Linked DNA regions of Homo sapiens: region 2 is linked to region 1. Evidence: promoter capture Hi-C in 16 types of primary human blood cells and fetal thymus (Javierre and others, 2016). All regions are on one chromosome and are shown on one strand. Each heading gives the region's core, a stretch centred on a gene start or on the middle of the fragment in contact. The rest is flanking DNA. Distances are from core to core; before and after follow the strand shown.

Region 1 (4,652 bases), core at 2,052-4,551:
TTAAGTCCAAGAGTCCAAGACCAGCCTGGGCAACACAGCAAGACTGTGTTTCTACTAAAAATTTAAAAAGTTGGCCAGGTGTGGTGGCACACACCTGTGGTCCCAGCTACTCGCCTGTGGTCCCAGCTACTTGGAAGGCTGAGGCAGGAGGATTGCTTGAGCCCAGGAGTTCACGCTGCAGTGAGCCAAGATTGTGCCCTTGCACTCTAGCCTGGGCAACAGAGCAAGACCCTGTCTCCAAAACAACAAAACAAAACAAAACTGGCCTAACACCCTATCTAAAAACAAAACAAAACAGAGGGCTATAGCACATTCTTTAGAATATCTTAAATTATGGCAAATCTCCATCTTTTCAGGATGGTTTTAGTTTTGGGGAATAGTCAAAAGTGTGAGAAACCCTTGGTCAAATTCCCTTTCCTAGGCCTGAAGCCCCCAACACTCACCATAAATAATTATTTTTCTCTATCTTGAGAAACAAATAAGTTGAGTAAATCATGACTATTGCCCATTGTAATACAACAAAGTAATCTAGGGTCTGTAAGCAACTTTCCTAAAAAGATAAAATGCATACATTGCATCAAAAAGAACATGCAGTACATACAAAATTTCTGAGGAAGAAAAATTATCTCTGCCCTCAAATCATGCTTACTTGCTATTTTATTTTTAAATAGATTGCTCATTAAACCTACCTCAAATGGAATGACAGGATTATAAATGGATGTTATAACTGCCCTTAACTTCTTCCCCAGGGGAGATAATTAAGGGGATCAAAAACACTTCTTCCCTTTGCAGTAGTCACATGATAACATGCTATCACTTTGGTTCAGGTTGGCAAGCAAATATTTGCTTGTTCCACTTCCAAGAAAGTATAAGGTCATAACTATTTAAACATTTGAAAACAAAAATTAATCTTATCAGCATAAGGCTGAAACCAGCATATGTAATAACTGGCTGTTCTTTAGTATTGAGTTGGGAACGGCATAAAGGGGACCAAAGACTAACTCTTTTTTTCCTTCTTTCTTTCTTTTTTTTATTTTTGAGACACAGTCTCACTCTAGTTGCCCAGGCTGCAGTGCAGTGGTACGATCTCAGCTAACTGCAGCCTCAACCTCCTGGGTTCAGGTGATCCTCTGACCCTCAACCTCCCGAGTAGCTGGGACTACAAGCACATTTTTAAATTTTTTTTTATTTTTAGTAAATATAGGGTTTTGCCATGTTGCCCAGGCTGGTCTCCAACTCCTGGTCTCAAGCAGTCCTCCTGCCTCGGCCTCCCATAGTGCTGGAAATACAGGCATGAGCCACTGCGCCCAGCCAAGACTAACTCTTTTAATTGGTTTCTGTCTCTTTGGGTCCTGAAAATCTGTCTCACTATTTATTATTATTATTATTATTATTATTATTTGAGACAGAGTCTCACTCTCTTTCCCAGGCTGGAGTGCAATGGCACAATCTCGGCTCACTGCAACCTCCGCCTCCTCGGTTCAAGCGATTCTCCTGCCTCAGCATCCCAGGTAGCTGGGATTATAGGCACCCACCACCACACCCAACTAATTTTTCTATTTTTCGTAGAGACGGGGTTTCACCATGCTGGCCAGGCTGGTCTCGAACTCCTGACCTCAGGTGATCAGCCTGCCTTGGGCTTTCAAAGTGCTGGGATTACAGGCATGAGCCACCGCAGCTGGCCATTTTTTTTTTCTTTCTTTTTTTTTTTTTTTTTTTTGAGACAGAGTCTCACTCTGTTGCCCAGGCTGGAGTGCAGTGGTGTGATCTCAGTTCACCACAACCTCCGCCTCCCGGGTTCAAGTAATTCTCCTGCCTCAGCCTCCCAAGTAGCTGGAATTATAGGCGCACCACCACGCCCAGCTAATTTTGTATTTTTAGTAGAGACGGAGTTTCACCATGTTGGCCAGGCTGGTCTTGAACGCCTGACCTCAGGTGATCCACCCACCTCAGCCTCCCAAAGTGCTGGGATTACAGGCATGAGCCACTGCACCTGGCCCTATTTATTATTGAAGAATCAAAATTAGGCCTAGCCTGAAAAATGAGATTATTCTTGATTTTTGAACAGGGTCCTTGAACTGTCATTTAAAACCAAATCTGGTAATCTTTAGAGGCCACTGATGAAAAATAAGGGTAACTACAAAGTGATGACACTTTGTGTGGCTCAGAATCTGTCCTCTTAGGCAGATACAGAAGTGCAGTTCTTTTTGAGTTCTGGTAGCATTGTTTTAAAAGCTGTGCACAGCCTCCTGAGATTGCTATTTTCAAAGGTAGCATTTAGTTGGATATATGTTTGGGTAGGTTTTATTTTTAAAATGCTGTTGCTTTCTAATGACCCCTTATGTTCTAATATGGAAAGGGGAGGCAAAGTATTGTGAAAAGTAGTTGGTAAAGTAGGCCGGATGTGGTGGCTCACACCTGTAATCCCAGCACTTTGGAAGGCCGAGGCGGGCGGATCACGAGGTCAAGAGATCCAGACCATCCTGGCCACATGGTGAAACCCTGTCTCTACTAAAAATACAAAAATTAGCTGGGCATGGTGGTACATGCCTGTAGTCCCAGCTACCTGGGAGGCTGAGGCAGGAGAATTGCTTGAACCCGGGAGGCAGAGGTTGCAATGAACTGAGATTGCGCCACTGCACTCCAGCCTGGTGACAGAGTAAGACTCCATCTCAAAAAAAAAAAAAAAAAGGTAGTTGGTAAAGTTGTTCACATGAACCTTATTTATAATAGTAAAACACTGATTTATAATAATAAAAAATTTGCTATAGTAACAAAAAGAGTCTAGAGTAAGAAACTAGCTGAGCAACGTGGTGTCACACTATACACCCATTAAGACAACAGGCACATGTGTCATGTCCATTTTGTGGAAAAGATATGTAAAATAATTTTAAGTAAAAAAGATAAATATAAAAAAGTGAATGCATACAAAACAATTTCACAAAATTGAATGTTACTCAAAAATCACAGCTCATTTTAAGCTGCACAAAATAGTCATTTTTTTCTTTATAATTGCTCAAATTCATAATCAAACAGAAGAAAGTTCCTGTCTTGGAAGTAGTGCTATGCCCCAATTCTTCCAGAGCCAGTACTTTAAACAATTCCATTTCATTATTTTCCTGTAGACTAATTCTTAGGACATCAGCATATCTCTCTTCAAGCATTAAAAAAATCTCTTTAGAGTCAGTGGATCAATAGACAGTTCCTGTTTTCCACACAACTGAAAGGGTGGAGCCCCCAAACCACAAGGGGAAGAAGGAAGTTAAAAGATGTTAAATACTGGGGCCAGCTCACCCTGGTCAGCCTAGCACTCTGACCTAGCAGTCAACATGAAGGCTCTCATTGTTCTGGGGCTTGTCCTCCTTTCTGTTACGGTCCAGGGCAAGGTCTTTGAAAGGTGTGAGTTGGCCAGAACTCTGAAAAGATTGGGAATGGATGGCTACAGGGGAATCAGCCTAGCAAACTGTAAGTCTACTCTCCATAATTCCAGAGAATTAGCTACGTATGGAACAGACACTAGGAGAGAAGGAAGAAGAAGAAGGGGCTTTGAGTGAATAGATGTTTTATTTCTTTGTGGGTTTGTATACTTACAATGGCTAAAAACATCAGTTTGGTTCTTTATAACCAGAGATACCCGATAAAGGAATACGGGCATGGCAGGGGAAAATTCCATTCTAAGTAAAACAGGACCTGTTGTACTGTTCTAGTGCTAGGAAGTTTGCTGGGTGCCTGAGATTCAATGGCACATGTAAGCTGACTGAAAGATACATTTGAGGACCTGGCAGAGCTCTCTCAAGTCCTTGGTATGTGACTCCAGTTATTTCCCATTTTGAACTTGGGCTCTGAGAGCCTAGAGTGATGCAGTATTTTTCTTGTCTTCAAGTCCCCTGCCGTGATGTGGGATTTTTATTTTTATTTTTATTTTATTTTATTTTATTTTTAAAGACAGTCTCACTGTGTGGCCCAGGCTGGAGTGCAGTGGCATGATCTCAGCTCACTGCAACCTCTGCCTTCTGGGCTCAAGTGATTCTCGTGCTTCAGCCTTCTGAGTAGCTGTGACTACAGGTGTGTACCACCACACCCAGCTAATTTTTTGTATTTTCAGTACAGATGGGGTTTCACCATGTTGGCCAAGCTGGTCTTGAACTCCTGGCCTCAAATGATCTGCCCACCTCAGCCTCCCAAAGTGGTAGGATTACAGGTGTGAACCACTGCACCCAGCCGACATGGGATTTTTAACAGTGATGTTTTTAAAGAATATATTGAATTCCCTACACAAGAGCAGTAGGAACCTAGTTCCCTTCAGTCACTCTTTGTATAGGATCCCAGAAACTCAGCATGAAATGTTTTATTATTTTTATCTACTCTACTTGATTAACTATCTTTCATTTTCTCCCACACAATTCAAGATGTGCCATGAGGAAAAGTTATTTTATAGTTTAGTACATAGTTGTCGATGTAATAATCTCTGTAGTTTTCAGATTGAATTCAGACATTTCCCCTCAATAGCTATTTTTGAATGAATGAGTGAAGGGATGAAATCACGGAATAGTCTTGTTTTCAAGATTCTAACTTGATATCCAAATTCACCTTTAGATATTATAAGAAAATTTCTATCAGAAAATCCTTATGTTTTTCTGATTAAAAAAAGC
Region 2 (5,092 bases), core at 1,370-3,869, 2.1 Mb before region 1:
CTAAAACTTGGCTGGGCACAGTGGCTCACACCTATAATGCCAGCACTTTGGGAGGCCGAGGTGGGCGGATCACGAAGTCTGGAGTTCGAGACCAGCCTGACCAACATGGTGAAACCCTGTCTCTACTAAAAATATGAAAATTAGCCAGGTGTGGTGGCATATGCCTGTAATCCCAGCTACTCAGGAGGCTGAGGCAGGAGAATCGCTTGAACCCAGAAGGTGAAGGTTGCAGTGAGCGGAGATGGTGCCACTGCACTCCAGCCTGGGCAACAGAGCACGACTGTCTGAAAAAAAAGCTAAAACTACTAAAAAACAGTTTTACATACAAAATATACAAAAAATATATTTAAAAAATTAAATCTGCTTTTAGTAAAAAGTTATAAATGGTATAAAAATACAATTTTTTGGCCGGGCGCAGTGGTTCATGCCTGTAATCCCAGCACTTTGAAAGGCCGAGGCAGGTGAATCACCTGAGGTTGGGAGTTTGAGACCAGCCTGACCAACATGGAGAAACCCCGTTTCTACTAAAAATACAAAATTAGCCAGGTGTGGTGGTGCGCACCTGTAATCCCAGCTACTCGGGATGCTGAGGCAGGAGAATCGCTTGAACCTGGGAGCTGGAGATTGCAGTGAGCCAAGAATGTGCCATTGCACTCCAGCCTGGGCAGCGAGAGCAAAACTCTGTCTCAGAAAAAAAAAAAAAAATATATATATATATATATATATATATAATATATATGTATATATGATTTGTGTTAAAAAATATAATTTTGTCTAATCCAAAGAGTTTTAAAAATTACCTTAACAAAACAAAATTAAAAATTTAAATAAATATAAAAAATTTGTAAAGAGTTCATCTTATTTTAAAAGTTCTATAAGCATAAACAAGTTGACTAAAATTTAAAGGGAATTATTTAGTTTCTCCATAGGTTAAACATTAAAATAAAAATATACTAATCCAGGGCCAAAATATGGGACCGTGTGTCTAAATAACAGGGTTTTCTCAAAAAATTAATCTACTTTTTAACAAAAAATTATAGTTATAAAAATTTTATAAAAATTTTACCTTACAATCATTATAATTAAACAGTTTTATTAAAAATTGGGTTTAACATTAATAATACACAAATACAAAAGTAAAATTTACCTTTCTCTTTTAAACAACACTTTCATATAATATTAAAAACAATAAAAGATTTTTATTTGCCTTTTAAATAAGCAACAAATAAAGAAGAAAAAAAGAGACATGCTGGCTTCATGCTGTTTTTATTGGATCCTATTTAAAAAACAGTCTCCCTCTATCAATGAGTAGAGATTTTTGTCTTAATTATTTTTTATTTATCACTTGTACTAAATAACTGACAATAACCTAAAATTTTATTTATTTTATAATATCAAGTATTTAAGCCTAGAATACTTGACAAACTTTTCAAAGTCAAATTCTAAATTAAGCCTTTTTTCTTTTCTTTTCTTTTCTTTTTTTTTTGAGACAGTGTCTCACTCTGTCGCCCAGGCTGGAGTCCAGTGGCACAATTATGGTTCACTACAACCTCCATCTACCAGGCTTAAGTGATCCTCCCACCTCAGCCTCCCCAGTAGCTGGGACTACAGACGTGCACAACTACACTTGGCTAATTTTTTTATTTTTTTATAGAGACGCGGTTTCCCCATGTTTCCCAGGCTGGTCTTAAATTCCTGGGCTCAAGCAATCTTCCCACCTCAGCCTCCGAAAGTGCTGAGATTGCAGGGGCAAGCCATCATACCTGGCTTTAAGCCTTCTTGTAATCTAATCGACTCTTTAAATATTAAGTCCCTTAAAGTCCAAGAAAATCAATTTAACATTTAATGTATTAAAATTATACAAAAAGATTGTTAAGGATAAAATAGTGTTTGACTTTCTTCTTTAAGCTATATTTACATAAATATATTGTCAATATATATTCCAAAACTATATAAAATTCCTATAATTCTGTTTCAATATATATCGATAATAATTATATGAAGTTATTATGTGCCACAAAAGTAACCAAGCTTTAACCATGATTACTTTAAAACTTTTGTCATCCACAATTGTTTTAATTATTTTCAAAACAATTTTATAATCAACTATAAAACTCTAATAAATACTCTTAAATACAAATATCTAATAACTTTAAAAATTATGCCAGTAAAATAAAAAAAATTCAAGACTCCCATAAAACCTACTGTGTTCATACATATCAAACAAAACAGAAATTAATTACATAAACTATACTATTAAAAAATATTTTTATAACTTTTTATTTAAAACACTGTTAATTCTTCTGTTTTACAAAGTCCAAAAAACTTTTTCTTTTTAGCTATTGACAACTTTCAACAGTCAGATAAAATACACTCCTATAAAGAAAATTTAAGACATATTTTTCTCTAGCTAATCTCTCCAAAATTTACAAACTATTTATACATATACTTAATTTATAACAATATTATTATTTACATAAATTCAATAAAAATCTATTTTCTTTTATAACACAATTAAAAACACTATTTTACCAAAATTTTAATTTAAAAAACATACTTACAAACTACTTTAAAATATCAAAATTAACCTATAAAGCCAATAAAAGCCCCTTAAAAAACTAACCTCATACCTTGTCTATACAGTGTCTATACAAAATTCTTAACCTATAACAAATAAAAAGTGTCACTTTCTAACAGGAACCACAGCCCCAAGTTTTCTTGAGACCTCAAAAGAAAAAATTTGCCCATTTAATACAAATATTTAAAGACACAAATAAACCCATGACTGGACTCAAAACTTCAAAAGATCTAATCTAAAATTCCCTATAACAAAGTTCCAACAAAGCCAATTTTTAAAAAAGCCTATATGACAAATAATTATTCTTACTGACTTTACACAAATACACAAGCCAAATACAATAAAACTAAAACTTATTTTGCCTATAAATTTGTCCTATTATAATTTGTCTTTAATAAAAACAAAAACTAAAAAAAGTTTCAAAAAAACCTAACTATAATACACCTGTAATTAAATTCTAGTCTTATCCACTGTTTTTGAGTTTTTATTATTTTCTATAATTTTAACTAAATCCTAAATTCTTTCTAGAGTACAAATTTCCAAACTAATATTTTCAATTTTTTTCTTTTATTTTTCTAACTTAAACTCAATAAAATTACTACTACCTCTTTCCTGAGGCTTTACAAACTAAAGCTTATTCCTTATAACACAGACAAAGAAAACGTCAAATTACTACTGCCTTCCTCCTCTATAACTAAAAGTACTTTAACATCCAAATAGTTTCCAACATTAATATTTGCTTTTCTATTTCCATAAAAATGCCTCTTAATAAACTTTTTTCTGCCTTCATCACATAAAAAGGCCTAGCCCATGTACAATACTACCTTCTAAATAAAACAACTAACTAAACTAATCCACCCTCATAAACTAAACAAGACTTAAAGCCACCTTCATAAATATTCATATCCCTATTTACAGCCTATTAAATATATATATTAGCCAACGTGTCATCACATCCAATTACAATTAACAATAAAAACCCTACATAATTAAAAAATTCAAAAATGCCTCAAATAGCCCTACAAAATATACACCAAAAAATTAAATCTATGTGCGACCCTACATTGTCACTAAATCAATAGGGGACATTCTAATTCAAGTCAGGACCATGTTAGAGACAAAAACTACTTATAACATTGGCCTGGCCTACAGGGGTAGATATATCCCTGTGTTATAAAACTTACTACTATTATACCCTCTATGTAAAACTGTAAGACAGACTTTCCCCAAAACTTTCTAAACCTCAAACTATAACACTCCAATAAATATTGTCTATAGGCCCAAATACTCATAAATATTTCCAAATCCAAATAAATCAATTCCATTCTAATACCCCCAAACTATGCCCCTTCTCAACAAAAAAATAGCCAAAACAATTATGGCAGCCATTTTCCATACAAATAAAATAAAATTTGACAATAAAAATTACAACCAAACAGCTTAACTTCAAACTGCATTTTAAAACTTTTTTTCCTTTCCAACTTTCTCCCCAGCCTCAAAATATAACTTGAAAATAAACTACAAATGTATTTTACAACCTCAAAATGTTTTCTTTCCTCCCTTCTCCCAATCTCAAAATATAACTTTAGACAAACTATATATCTGCTTCCTTTTGCCTTAAAATACAGCCTCAAAATGTACTATAAATCGCCACTCCCCTTCTTTCCCATACTATACTCCCATGCGTTATGCATATTTATTTACTTACATCCTTGTTAAGTACATGCCACACTGACATATCTAGTCATATATTTCCATTAAAACGTCAAAGGCCAAATCCTAACACAAACCAGACACCTCCAAAATTCTCTCCCCAGTCAAGGCTGAAACTCAATCCCAGCTAAAAACTGACTACAGGCCAGATGCAAAGGCTCACACCTGTTATCCCAGCACTTCGTGAGGCCGAGGTGGGAGGACTGCTTGAGCCCAGAAATTTGAGACTAGTCTGGGCAACATGGTGAAACCCCATCTCCACCAAAAAAAAATACAAAAAGTTAGCTGTGCTGGATGGTGCATGCCTGTGGTCCTAGCTACTAGGGAGGCTGAGGTAGGAGAGGATCACCTGAGCCTGGGAGGTCAAGACTGCATTGAGCCAAGATCACACCACTGCACTCCAGCCTGGGAGACAGAGTGAGACCCCATCTCCAAGAAAAAACAAAAATTGACCATAAAATTGACTGCAATTAATTTGTAACCTAATTAAAGCCCAAAATGACACCAGGGCCTTCACCAAATAAAACAACAATTCACAATAAGTCATTAAAACAAACCGTGCCACCTCATACCCACTTCCTCTCCTACATTCCAAACCCCTCTCTCCTTAAAAATCTCTATCTTCCCTCCACAAAGGGAAGAGTGGAAATTTTTTAAAATTTCACCCATTCTTCCCCTTGCTAACACAAGTAGTAAAGTCTTGCTCTCTTTCTTTCACATGTCATTATTATTTTGACTCCTTTCTATAAACAAATGGCCGAACCCTTTTGCTGGTTACACGTCTAGTTGTTACACTTCCAT

Evidence for each region. Contacts are between HindIII fragments. The CHiCAGO score rates a contact against its expected background, and 5 or more counts as called.
Region 2: a fragment that was not itself captured here is called in contact with the fragment with the promoter of LYZ in region 1 in 1 of 17 cell types (activated CD4 T cells); the score reaches 6.8 in activated CD4 T cells.

What each region holds. Positions count from the first base shown.
Region 1 is chr12:69,345,080-69,349,731 of GRCh38, forward strand. It overlaps LYZ (lysozyme), which reads left to right and starts at 3,302. Exons shown (of 4, transcript NM_000239.3): 1 at 3,302-3,465. The coding sequence starts at 3,330. The HindIII fragment of the contact is 11,988 bases long and covers 1-4,652 here.
Region 2 is chr12:67,259,290-67,264,381 of GRCh38, forward strand. No RefSeq gene overlaps it. Among named protein-coding and RNA genes, the nearest start is that of CAND1, 7.5 kb to the right of the region's middle. The HindIII fragment of the contact is 1,180 bases long and covers 2,030-3,209 here.